4 separate regions of the Homo sapiens genome follow, and regions 2, 3 and 4 are each linked to region 1. Evidence: promoter capture Hi-C in 16 types of primary human blood cells and fetal thymus (Javierre and others, 2016). All regions are on one chromosome and are shown on one strand. The core of a region is centred on a gene start or on the middle of the fragment in contact, and the rest is flanking DNA. Distances in the headings are between cores, read along the strand shown. Region 1 holds the start of CEP135 (centrosomal protein 135). Region 2 overlaps REST (RE1 silencing transcription factor). Region 3 has its middle 13 kb from the start of SPINK2. Region 4 holds the start of SRD5A3 (steroid 5 alpha-reductase 3).

Region 1 (3,081 bases), core at 242-2,741:
CAAGGCCACCAGCTAAGCAAAGCCAAAAGTTATGCAAATTTCAGCAGTTATGCTATAGATTACAAAACCTGTCACTGTGTGATTTACTGCCTTGGTTCTGCTTTTTTAATTTAGCCTATATAAGCCAAGCTCTGTCTTTGTTCAGGGCTCAGCTTTTTGGATGCAAATCCACGGAGCCAGTGCACACCTTAATAAAATCCTCCTGCTCCACCCATTGGTCTTTCTGGTCCTCTGCTTTCCCGCAACAATGGGAGTCTTCAAGCGGCCAGTGCCTTTTTCGTTCTTAACTGCCCAATCCGTGCCAGCAGAAGGCAGCTTTAAACCAAAGTGAAAGAGCTGAAGCAAAAAAGAAAGAAAATAAAAAGTCCCAGTTCTTCTGGGCTTACCTCCTGGCTGGCTCACCAAAATATGTTACCAGATTGGAAGTTGGGAGTTCCAGGTTCTTGGTGTTATGAACAAAGAATTGGATGAGACACACAAATAACCACCCCACAAGATTTATTAAGCAAAGAATATACCAGAGAGAGGAACGGGCTTATCTTCAAGTGGTGTCAGCCCTGGATTAATATAGCCTTTGTTCTTTTATACCCACTTCCTACACTTCTTTAACTCTAGGGAGGGGATTTCCTATAATTGTCATATCTGTTTTCTTGTTTTTTCTCTCTTAGTGCGCCTGCGTGAGCTTGCCATAATTTTAAGTGTATGTATGATAGGCATTCCATAGGTATGAGCTGGTCAGTCTTCTGACTTCCTTCCCTATTCTGCTGCCTCAGAAGGCCTATTTGGGAGAAAAGTAAACAGGAAAGAATGAAACTCCCTCTGACTGTCTGGGAAATTTTCAGGGGAGAAATGGAATTCTAGGATTTTACTATGTGTTTTCCATCTGTGAGTGGACTATAACGGTTTATTTCAATTTAATTCCACTCACAAATGTTTTGCTGAGTAGAATAGTCTCTGACTCAAGGAATTCACATTTGGGGGCGGCAGAGAGAGACGGATCAACAAATGATTGTATTTTGATGGATGAATTCTATGGTTCTACAGAGAGCCTGCGGGAGATACTATTGTGGGATAATTAATTGCATTGGGTGGTTGTCAGGGAAAGTTGCAGAGACAACGTGATATCTGCGTTTGGGGATTACGTGGTGAGCAGGCGTTCACCTTGCAGGTGAAGGCTACTCCGCTGCAGGGACCGGTACTGGGGCGGCGTTTGTTCCCCGCACGCAGTAGGTGATCCACACCTCCCGCCGACAGGAGGAAGAGGATGCCAGCTCAGGCACCAGCTGAGGTTTGGCATTTGCTGGCCGCGGGCGCCGACCTCCAGGGGGCGCCGTGGCCTCGCGCTGTCCGGGCCGTTGCATTTCCGGGCACTGGGGCTCCGCCATCGTCGCCAAGCGCGTCCCCGCCGCGAGCCGCTAATCGTCCGCCGCTCCCGTTACCGGGGCAACCGCGGCGCCTCCTCCGTGTCGGCCCCGATCGTCCCTCCGCGCCATTTTCAAACTGCTCTAGCGCCGGAGCCCGTGCCTGGACGGAAGGAGCTAGTGGGGGACTCGAGGCCTGAGGGCAATGCGGCTGGAGGCGGAGGCAACGGCGGCTGGAGCTGCCGGTGAGTCCGGATGTGGGAGCCAGAGGGCCAGCTGCGGCGGTGGTGGCGCCTTCGCCTTCTGGGCGGTACCCGCGGGCCGGGCTCGGGCACTGCCGGGAGGCCGCGCGGCCGCGGGAGGAAGTGAGGCCAGGCCGGGTCAGACCGGGCGGGGAGGGGCGCGGGGACTCTTCCCACCCACCCCGCTCCCACACCCCCTTCCCGTCAACACCCGACGGTAAAGTTGCAAACCGGAGATTGGGTGGAGGAGAGCTTGGGCCGACTCGTCAAGGAGCGTCTGTGTGGGCCGTGCAGACAGGCTTGCTGTTGACCAATGGATAGATTTAAACATTAAAATGCCTTCTCAGTGTAGCAGTCATCCATGCTCTTTGTAACAAAAATGTCGCAAAGCGTAGGACGACAGCCTTTAATTAACCTTTGCCCAGCTCCTTTGAAGCCTCTCCACTGCTTTCCAGCCTTTACTACTTTGAGTTCAATAAGAAAGGACTCTGAGATAACCACAGCTAACGGGTTTCTTTGTTGTCGTTTGGGGTTTCTTGTTTATCTTCTTAAGCCCTGTGCACACATACATACAGCATTAAATGTACTGGTTTTGAGACGCCAACCCCCAGAGTTAAGTAGATGGATACTTCTACACATATATGTATGGGGGACCCCCAAACCTAACCTTTTATGTTGCTTTGCTAGAAACTTAGAGTATAGCCACCATATTTGGATGGGGGTTATGGGGAAAGACAACAGTTCATGGGTGGGGACGGCCTAACATGTTTCTATCTGGGAGGATTTTAATCCGTCCTGTGTATTGAGGCCCTGGCCATGATTTATTGATTCATATTCATTCTCATTCTCTCCCCTCCAAAGCAGGATGTGAGGAGGTATTATCTCTGGGTAACTGGAGTTGGTAGCAAAGAGGGGAAATGTTTTGAGTGGTGCACCGCCTGTAAGTTTACACCCTGCTAGTAATACACCTGGATTTGTCAGGTGTATTTCTGATGTCTGCAGGAATTTCCCTAAAAACCCTGCATCACTTAGGTGTCTCTTGTGGAAAGAACCTAGGAAATCTATGAGGAAGCCATTCAAAAAAAGTTAACAAGAGCAAAGAGAAAGATATACAGAAAGGAGTGACCAAGGAGAGACTCAGGAGACCTGGTCTCTGATGACTGCCCACCTACTTTGTGGCCCCGTGGTTTTGGAAGAGTTACTTTCTTGAGGCAGCCTTTCCTCATGTTTAAGTAGGGATAATATCATTGGTCTTTCTCCCTCACAGGGTAGCTGTGAGGATCGACTTTTACATGTATGCTCATGCATGTAATGCATTTTTTATATATTGTGAAGAACAACAGATGTAAAACAAAATTTTTATTTGGCTTAGAAATACGAGTACCATGACTACAGTTAGTTAGCAAAGGTTAGAAAAGAGCAGAGTTTCTAAAGAAATGATCTTTGGGCTGAGCATATTGGCTCACACCTGTAAACCT
Region 2 (3,081 bases), core at 399-2,898, 960 kb after region 1:
CAGACAATTATGTTTAGGGTGTTTGAACTGATACTAAGCGCAACTGTATAAAAAAAGTTGAAACTTTTTTTTTTTTTTTTTTTTTGAGACAGTCTGGCTTTGTCGCCCAGGCTGGAGTGCAGTGGCAAGATCTCAGCTCAGTGTAACCTCTGCCTCAGGGTTCAAGTGATTATCTTGCTTCAGCCTCCCTGGCTCAGCCTCCCGAGTAGCTGGGATTACAGGCACCCACCACCGTGCCTGGCTAATTTTTTTTTTTTGAGACGGAGTCTGGCTCTGTTGTCGAGGCTGGAGTGCAGTGGCATGGTCTTGGCTCACTGCAACCTCTGTCTCCCAGGTTCAAGCAGTTCTCCTGCCTCAGCCTCCTGAGTGGCTGGGACTATAGGTGCCCACCACCACACCCAGCTGATTTTGTATTTTTAGTAGAGATGGGGTTTCACCATGTTGCCCAGGCTGGTCTTGAACTCCTGACCTCGTGATCCGCCCACCTCAGCCTCCCAGAATGCTGGGATTACAGGCGTGAGTGCCACCCCTGGCTAATTTTTGTATTTTTAGTAGAGATGGGGTTTTGCCATATTGGCCAGGCTGGTCTCAAACTCCTGACCTCAGGTGATCTACCCACTTTGGCCTCCTAAATTGCTGGGATTATAGGGGTGGGCTACCGCACCCAGCCGAAACTTTTTTTTTTTTTTTAATTTCTTTTTGTGGAGATGGGGGGTCTCACTATGTTGCCCAGGCTGGTCTTGAACACCTGGCCTCAAGTGATCCTCCTGCCACAGTCTTCCCAAGTGTTGGGATTATAGGCGTGAGCCACTGTGCATACTAGTCATTCACTTTTAAATTGGGTTTTATTCAGCTGCTGTTCACTGTAGTTTTTTTAATTGGATTTATTTATTCATTTATTGATTTATTTGAGATGGAGTCTCACCCTGGAGCCCAGGCAGTGGTGTGATCACAGCTCACCACAGCCTCTACCTCCTGGGTTCAGGCAGTCCTCCCATCTCAACCTCCAAAGTAACTGGGACTACAGATGTGCCCTACCACACCCTAATTTTTTAAAATTTAAATTGGGTTTTAAATATTGTAATTGAGGGGCCTCATTTTTCAAATAAATGTTTTTAACTATTGGTAGCTCATTTGGACATTTCTGTTACATTTTCTTGGTAAGAATTGGTACATTTGGGTCCTGATGAATGGATAGAGAATAATCCAGTACTCTACTCTTGGGGTCACAAATGAATAGGGGGTGTGGGATGCTGTTTGCCTCAGGTCTCCTCTTACAGGAGTTGGCACTTGACAGGACTGAACCCCACTGGTAAAGGGGACACTGAGGAGGGGAATTGATGCTGCTTTAAGTGGAGTGGTAGACTTAATTTTTGTTTTGTTTTGTTTTGGAGATAGGATCTCCCTCTGTGCCCCAGGCTGGAGTGCAGTGACGCGATCTCGGCTCACTACAACCTCCACCTCCCAGGTTCAAGCGATTCTCATGCCTCAGCCTCCCCAGTAGCTGGGATTATAGGTGCCCACCACCATGGCTAGCTAATTTTTTGTTTTTTTAGTAGAGATGGGGTTTCACTATGTTGGCCAGGCTAGTCTCGAACTCCTGACCTCGTGATCTGCCTCGGCCTCCCAAAGTGCTGGGATTACAGGCGTGAGCCACCGCGCCTGGCCAGTTTTTTTTTTGAGATAGTTTTACTTTGTCACCCATCCTGGAGTGCAGTGGCGAGATCACTGCTCACTGCAGCCTTGACCTCCTGGACTTGTGACCCTCTCGCCTCAGTCCCCCAGGTAGCTGGGACCACAGACGCATGCCACCACACCTGGCTGATATTTGTATGGTAGAGACAGGGTTTCGCCATGTTGCCCAGATTGGTCTGTAACTCCTGAGCTCAAGTAATCTGCCCTTAGCCTCCCAAAGTGCTGGGATTATGGGTGTGAGCCACCGTATCCAGCGACTTAATTTTTAAAAATTTATTTTATTTACTTATTTTTTATATCCCAGATACTTAAAACTATTAACTGGCAGGCTTAAACAATAAAACTTGCAGGTGAAATTCCATTACAAGAGTGACCTCTGTTACAGGATTGCTAAGCCCCAGCAGATGGATGGCTCATGTGTTGAATGCTTTAAAATTTAGTCCAGTAAAAGAATTTGTAGTCCCTTTGGAATTTGTCATAAGCTGTGATTGATTGTCTCGATGCTTTGAAACCATTCGATTTCAGAAGTAAAGGTCAAGCATTACAAAAATACATAAAGTAGGAAATGAAAGTTACTTGGGGACACAACCCCATTAATCACTTGACAGTTTGAATTAGACAGACTGTTAGACTAAACCAGCCTTACCTACAATATCTTAAATCCCAGCCATCATATATACTAAACTCATAAATAAGTACACCATATTCATTTAGCTGGGATTACAGGTGCCTTCCACCATGCCCGGCTAATTTTTGTATTTTCAGTAGAGATGTGGTTTCACCGTGTTGGCCAGGCTAGTCTTGAACTCCTGACCTCAGGTCGTCTGCCCACCTCAGCCTCCTGAAGTGCTGGGATTACAGGCCTGAGCCACCAAGCCTGGCCTGGTTTATTTGGTCTTAATGCTTATTTTTCCCCAGTATTACCTTCATTCTGATTTTTTTTTTTTTTAACTTTTTTTTTTTTTTTTTTTTTGAGACAGTTTTACTCTTGTCGCCCAGGGTGGAGTGCAATGGTGCAATCTCGGCTCACTGCAACCTCCGCCTCCCAGGTACAAGCAATTATCCTGCCTCAGCCTCCTGAGTAGCTGGGATTCCAGGCATGCGCCACCACACCTGCTAATTTTGTATTTTTAGTAGAGACAAGGTTTCTCCATGTTGGGCAGGCTGGTCTCGAACTCCCGGCCTCAAGTGATCCACCCGCCGCGGCCTCCCAAAGATTACAGGCGTGAGCCACCACGCCTGGCCAATTTTGTGTGTGTGTGTGTGTGTATTTTTTTTTTTTTTTTTTTTTTTGAGATGGAGTCTTGCTCTGTTGCTCAGGCTGGAGTGCAATGGCGTGATCTCTGTTCACTGCAACCTCTGCCTCCAGGGCTTAAGTGATTCTCC
Region 3 (3,081 bases), core at 280-2,779, 890 kb after region 1:
CGGGTTCAAGCAATTCTCATCATGCCTCCGCCTCCCGAATAGGTGAGACTATAGGCCTGTGCCACCACACCTGGCTAATTTTTGTATTTTTAGTAAAGATGAGGTTTCACCATGTTGGCTTGACCTCAAGTGATTCCCCTTCCTTGGCCTCCCAAAGGGCTGGAATTATAGGCATGAGCCAGTGTGCCCGGCCATAAAGGTATATAATTCAAAATATTCTGAGCATACAGATTCTCTTTTCCTTCTTTAACATCATCATGATTTAAATGAACCTGAGTAATTAATGCTGATCTAGTAAATCGTAGTGGCCTTAAGTCTAAGTATTGAGAATAGGTAATTTTAGCCGGGTGCGGTGGCTCAGGCCTGTAATCCCAGCACTTTGGGAGGCCGTAGGCAGTTAGGATCACCTGAGGTCAGAAGTTTGAGACCAGCCTGACTAACATGGAGAAATCCCATCTCTACTAAAAAAAAAATACAAAATTAGCCGGGCGTGGTGGCGCATGCCTGTAATCCCAGCTACTCAGGAGGCTAAGGCGGGAGAATTGCTTGAACCTGGGAGGAGGCAGAGATTGCAATGAGCTGAGATCTGGCCATTATTGCACTCCAGCATGGGCAACAAGAGCGAAACTCCTTCTCAAAAAAAAAAAAAAAAAAAAAAAAAAAGAATAGGTAATTTTATTATATTCTACAATGAAGGGCAATTTAAACATAATGTAATTTAATGTTTAGACATTTGTGAAACTTTCAACTAAAAGATTCCCAAGTTTCTATGAGAAAAATTAAAACAACTTTTGTCAGAGTAGGCAGTAGGCATCCCAATTATTTTACAAAATATGCTCACCATAAACAAAACAATTATATGACTTAGAATTACATGTTAATATAACCGTTCTTGCCCTGCTTTCTACAAGGTATTGTGAAATTATGTGTTCTGGGTATTTTTGACTTGTATGTGCTTCTGATTAGCTGGAAAACAGCTAGGAAAATACAGTGGTCAAAACATAGAATTTGGCTGGGTGTTCTAATCCCAGCACTTTGGGAGGCGGAGATGGGAGGATCGCTTGAGGCCAGGATTTGAGACTAACCTGGGCAACATTGTGAGAGTCCCATCTCTACAAAAAATTAAAAGACAAGCCTAATTCAATATGGTTTTCCTTACCATTCAGCTCTGTGATGTAGATAGAAACTTTACCCCTGAAGCTAACATAATTCAAATTCAATTGTGGATCAAGTTGGCAACCCAACATGTATGCTCCATATTGCCTCTGGCACCAAGTTTAAACATTTAAGAAAAATTATCCGGCCAGGCGCAGTGGCTCAAGCCTGTAATCCCAGCACTTAGGGAGGTCAACGTGGGTGGATCATGAGGTCAGGAGATCGAGACTATTCTGGCTAACACAGTGAAACCCCATCTCTACTAAAAATACAAAAAAATTAGCCGGGCGTGGTGGTGGGCACCTGTAGTCCCAGCTACTCGGGAGGCTGAGGCAGGAGAATTGCTTGAAACCACCGGAAGGCAGAAGTTGCAGTGAGCCAAGATCACGTTACTGCACTCCAGCCTGGGTGACAGAGACAGACTCCATCTCAAAAAAAAAAAAAAGAAAAATTATCCTAATGTGTCCTCCAAATATGTCCTTTTTTTTTTTTTTTGAGACAGAGTTTCGCTCTTGTTGCACAGGCTGGAGTGCAGTGACATGATCTTGGCTCACTGCAACCTCCGCCTTCCGGTGGTTTCAAGCAATTCTCCTGCCTCAGCCTCCTGAGTAGCTGGAACTACAGGCACATACCACCACGCCCAGCTAATTTTTTGTATTTTTATTAGAGATAGGGTTTCACCATGTTGGTCAGGATGGTCTCGATCTCTCGACCTTGTGATCCGCTCGCCTCGGCCTCCCAAAGTGCTGGAATTACAGGCGTGAGCCACCGCGCCCGGCCCAAATATGTCCTTTCAAAGTCATACTAGAGTACTGTCTAAAAGGCCGGCATGGAAGTTGTCTGATTGTAGAGGAAGTCATTTCATTTCATTTATTTACCATTGATAGGGTCCGGAGTCTGTAAAGTTAGATGTTAGCTTATGGAAAATAAGTGGCAAATGATTTTGTTGGGTAGAAAAGATATCTCCAGGCCAGGTGCGGTGTCTCACGCCTGTAATCCCAGCACTTTGGTAGGCCGAGGCGGGTAGATCACTTGAGGTGGATCACTTCAGGAGTTTGAGACCAGCCTGGCCAGCAGGGTGAAACCCAGTCTCTACTAAAAATACAAAAATTAGCCAGGCTTGGTGGCACATGCCTGTAATCCCAGCTACTGGGGAGACTGAGGCAGGAGAATTGCTTGAATCCAGGAGGTGGAGATTGCAGTGAGCCAAGAGCGCGCCATTGCACTCCAGCATGAACGAAGAAGCGAGACTCTTGTTTAAAAAAAGAAAGAAAGAAAAGATATCTCCAAAGGTTGCCATTTCATTGCTCTGTGAATATTAAGCAGTGTTATATTTCATATTGCAGTCTTATCCCAGCATTCTTTTTCCCACTGACTATATATTTACCAGTCTCCCCTATCTTTCTTCTTTTGCCGGTTCCCTGATGATTAGTTAAATAAGAAGGGTAAATAAGAGGCTAGCTTGCCTAGCAGATAGAGAAAGGGGTATTTCTGACTTGGGAAGATCAGCATGTGCAAAGGCGAGCGTGACTCCTTTAGAGAATTCCAAGAGACTCCATGTGGCTAAAGCAGTTCTTCTCAAACTTTGATGTCCATATGAATCACTCAGATTCAGTGAGTCTAGGGCGAGGCCCAGAATTCCACCTGTCTACAAGCTCCCAGGTTAAGCTGCTGCTGCTTGTCTTTGGACCATACTTTGAGTAAAAAGGGGGTAGGGTTAAAGCACTTCCAAAGATGTGCACATCCAAAAATGAAGATGGGGCCAGGCACATTAGCTCATGCCTGTAATCCCAGCACTTTGAGAGGCCGAGGCGGGCAGATCACTTGAGTCCAGGAGTTTGAGACCAGCCTGGCCAATATAGTGAAATCCTGTTTCTACTAAAAATACAAAAAGTTAACCAGGCATATTAGTACAAACCTGTAGTC
Region 4 (3,081 bases), core at 308-2,807, 600 kb before region 1:
AGTTAACCTAAGAAAAATAAAGAAACAGTGAAGGGGTGCCAGGAGCATTGGCTCATGCTTGTAATCCCAGCACTTTGGGAGGCCGAGGCAGATGGATCACGAGGTCAGGAGATCAAGACCATCCTGGCTAACACAGTGAAACCCCATCTCCACTAAAAATACAAAAAAAAAAAAAAAAAAAAAGCCAGGCGTGGTTGGGGGGGCACCTGTAGTCCCAGCTATTCGGGAGGCTGAGGTAGGAGAATGGTGTGAACCTGGGAGGCAGAGCTTGCAGTGAGCAGAGATCAGGCCACTGCACTCCAGCCTGGGCGACAAAGCGAGACTCCATCTCAAAAAAAAAAAAAAGAAAAGAAAGAAACAGTGAAAGGGTGACTCCCGCAAAAGAGATCCAGGATCACTCAATAAGGCCTCATTGTCCTAGCTAGAATGCCAATTTAACCATCCTTAATCACCTGGCTGTCAAAGGACGGGTAAAGCCTTAGGTGTCTTTTGCACAAAGAAGAAAACTTTAAAAGCTTGCTCATTTAACAGTCCAAAGTCCCACTAACCTACCCACCCTGATGTTTATTCAACACACATATCGGGTATCTCATTGGGGTAAGGGTGATGAGTTGGCTACCTCTCCCCTCTTCCACTTCTCACCCACCACCCAATCTCAAAAATGTAAGCTCCAAATAAGCAGTGACAATTATCTTGTAAACCCCTCTGTCCTCAGTATCCAAAATGATGCCTGTCATACAGTAGGCATACAATACTTCAGAATTAACATTTTAAAGACTTTTAAATACTTAAAAGAGCTAGATTTTCACTTATAGTAAATAAAATCAGTGTTGTTTAAAATCAGTGAGTCAATAAATAGCATTGTCACTACCTGAGATAAATGTTACAGGAAACAGCTGATGGAATTTAAAAACTTTGCTTCTAAGGATTGGAACCCTATTGGTAAGCGACTGCTGTTTTTTAAACACAGTTTTTACCACTATGATTTTTATTATTATGTGCAATTACTTGTCTACATGTTTACATTATACACATATCCAACACATTTCCAGCATCCTAACATAATTATTCATTTTTGGGTGTGATCTGCCTTCTTTATCCATATATACACACATTCATATTAATATAGTTGTTTGCAATCATAGCTATGTATTTTTATGGTTGGTTTTGTTTTTCACTTCACATATTGTTTCCTAAACAGCTTTCCCTGTTTCTACACTCGTCATAATAATTCTCAATGACTGCATGATATTCTAACATGTCAGTGTATCATAATTTAGCTAAATAAACTAAAATGCAACATGTAAGGTTTCCATTTTTTGCTTTGGAGATAATGTTGATAAGAGTGGCAGACACGTGGTCTCGTCTGTTTTGCGTCTTTGCTTCTGATGAATCATATTCTGGAGCTCCATCTAAGAATCCCCATGCCCAGATTAGGGACTGCGAGCGACCACCCAGCGCCAGCGCGACCAGGACCAAGGACCTCCGCGGCTGAGCGGCGAGTCCGGGAGGGGCTCTGCGCGTCCCCGCCCCGCGCCGCGTCACCGACGTCCCGCTAGGCTGAGACCGGTGCGCCGCGCGCTAGTGGCCGCTCTTCCGCGGGCTAGCGGGCGGTGGGGGCGCCAGCAGCGCGGAAGGCGGGCACGCGGGCCATGGCTCCCTGGGCGGAGGCCGAGCACTCGGCGCTGAACCCGCTGCGCGCGGTGTGGCTCACGCTGACCGCCGCCTTCCTGCTGACCCTACTGCTGCAGCTCCTGCCGCCCGGCCTGCTCCCGGGCTGCGCGATCTTCCAGGACCTGATCCGCTATGGGAAAACCAAGTGTGGGGAGCCGTCGCGCCCCGCCGCCTGCCGAGCCTTTGATGTCCCCAAGAGGTAACCGCGCCCCGGTCCCGAGCCGCGGTGGTCAAGGCGCTGAGAGTTCGGGGCGCCCCGGCTCGCGGGCAGCCAGCAGGGGGCAGCAGAGGCGGGACCCGGCCTGGGAGGCCCTGGCGGGTTCCCGGGCGCAGCACGGCGCTCCCTCGGCCTGGCCCCGGCCATGCCCCGGCTGCTGCGTGGCTCCGGGGAGCAGTGCCCGGGTGTCCGCGGACGCCGAGGGAGAGCGGAGCCGCTTGCACTCAGCTGGAGGAATGTGAACTGGTAGCCGCACGGAGCCTTTCCCTGTGGGAAATGGCAACGCATCCGAATTTAGGCCTGGTCATGCGAATTTAGGCGGCAAATTGAAGTGCCCCTTGCCCCAAATTCTCCTTTTTCCCGTACCCTGCACTCCAGTGGCTCATACTCTAACTTGAGGTCACCGGGAATCATTTGTGGAAATGAAGTTAGGCCGGCTCTTCGGCCTCGGCTTCCCCCGTTTCTCTTCCCAACCCTTGCAGTGGGGACAAAGGACTGAGTCGCCCTAACCTGCACCTTGGCAGGTGCCCCTGGGGAAGGTGGCCCAAGGTGCAGGTCATAGGCAGGCCCGTCCCGAAGCTCCATTTGACTTTCGAAAAATTCTGTAACCCAGTTCAGCGAAGGATTAAATCGTCAGGTTTTAAATAGAGACCTGTTATAATTTTCTTCTTCTCCTTTTTCCACTTTAAATTCAGGACATAGCTGGAAAGAGTTGGCCAAATACTATTCGAGATGGTAGAAATAGAACAGTGCCCCTTAAGATGCATCTTAGGCCGGGCGCAGTGGCTCACGCCTGTAATCCCAGCACTTTAGGAGGCTGAGGCAGGCGGATCGCTTGAGTTCAGGAGTTCGAGACCAGGCTGGGAAATATAGTGAGACTCCGTCTCTCCTGAAAATACAAAAAATTGGCAGGGCTTGGTGGCGTGTGCCTGTAGTGCCAGCTACTTGGAATGAAGGCAGGAAGATCATCTGAGATCAGGCATTGGAGACTGCAGTGGGCTATAATCATGGCACTGCACTCTAGCCTGGGCAACAGAGAAATACCTTGTATTTAAAAAAAATTTTTTTTTAAAGGTTAAAAACATCTGGGTTGTCGCTTGAAACACTCATAGGCAGTGCCCCAGGTCCGCAGGCAACAAAGGGACAAGTATAATTTGGCTTCTAAAACTTGGATAATCTGCGAATTTTGA

What was found. Contacts are between HindIII fragments. The CHiCAGO score rates a contact against its expected background, and 5 or more counts as called.
Region 2: a fragment that was not itself captured here is called in contact with the fragment with the promoter of CEP135 in region 1 in 2 of 17 cell types (total B cells and activated CD4 T cells); the score reaches 9.4 in total B cells.
Region 3: a contact is called between a fragment that was not itself captured here and the fragment with the promoter of CEP135 in region 1, in 5 of 17 cell types (total CD8 T cells, total B cells, erythroblasts and 2 more). The highest score is 6.4, in total CD8 T cells.
Region 4: the fragment with the promoter of SRD5A3 here is called in contact with the fragment with the promoter of CEP135 in region 1 in 8 of 17 cell types (naive CD8 T cells, activated CD4 T cells, total B cells and 5 more); the score reaches 10.4 in naive CD8 T cells.

The regions. Positions count from the first base shown.
Region 1 is chr4:55,947,454-55,950,534 of GRCh38, forward strand. CEP135 (centrosomal protein 135) reads left to right here and starts at 1,492. Exons shown (of 26, transcript NM_025009.5): 1 at 1,492-1,606. It overlaps EXOC1-AS1 (EXOC1 antisense RNA 1), which reads right to left and starts at 559. Exons shown (of 5, transcript XR_941069.4): 1 at 387-559. RefSeq lists enhancers at 301-450, 1,069-2,033 and silencers at 1,248-1,387, 1,438-1,897. The HindIII fragment of the contact is 6,740 bases long and covers 1-3,081 here.
Region 2 is chr4:56,912,276-56,915,356 of GRCh38, forward strand. All of the region lies in intron 2 of REST (RE1 silencing transcription factor), which reads left to right. Among named protein-coding and RNA genes, the nearest start is that of REST, 5.9 kb to the left of the region's middle. RefSeq lists an enhancer at 2,493-2,993. The HindIII fragment of the contact is 4,758 bases long and covers 1-3,081 here.
Region 3 is chr4:56,833,348-56,836,428 of GRCh38, forward strand. No RefSeq gene overlaps it. Among named protein-coding and RNA genes, the nearest start is that of SPINK2, 13 kb to the left of the region's middle. The HindIII fragment of the contact is 4,006 bases long and covers 1-3,081 here.
Region 4 is chr4:55,344,685-55,347,765 of GRCh38, forward strand. SRD5A3 (steroid 5 alpha-reductase 3) reads left to right here and starts at 1,558. Exons shown (of 5, transcript NM_024592.5): 1 at 1,558-1,873. The coding sequence starts at 1,653. RefSeq lists an enhancer at 1,279-2,039 and silencers at 1,491-1,660, 1,871-2,140. The HindIII fragment of the contact is 3,550 bases long and covers 514-3,081 here.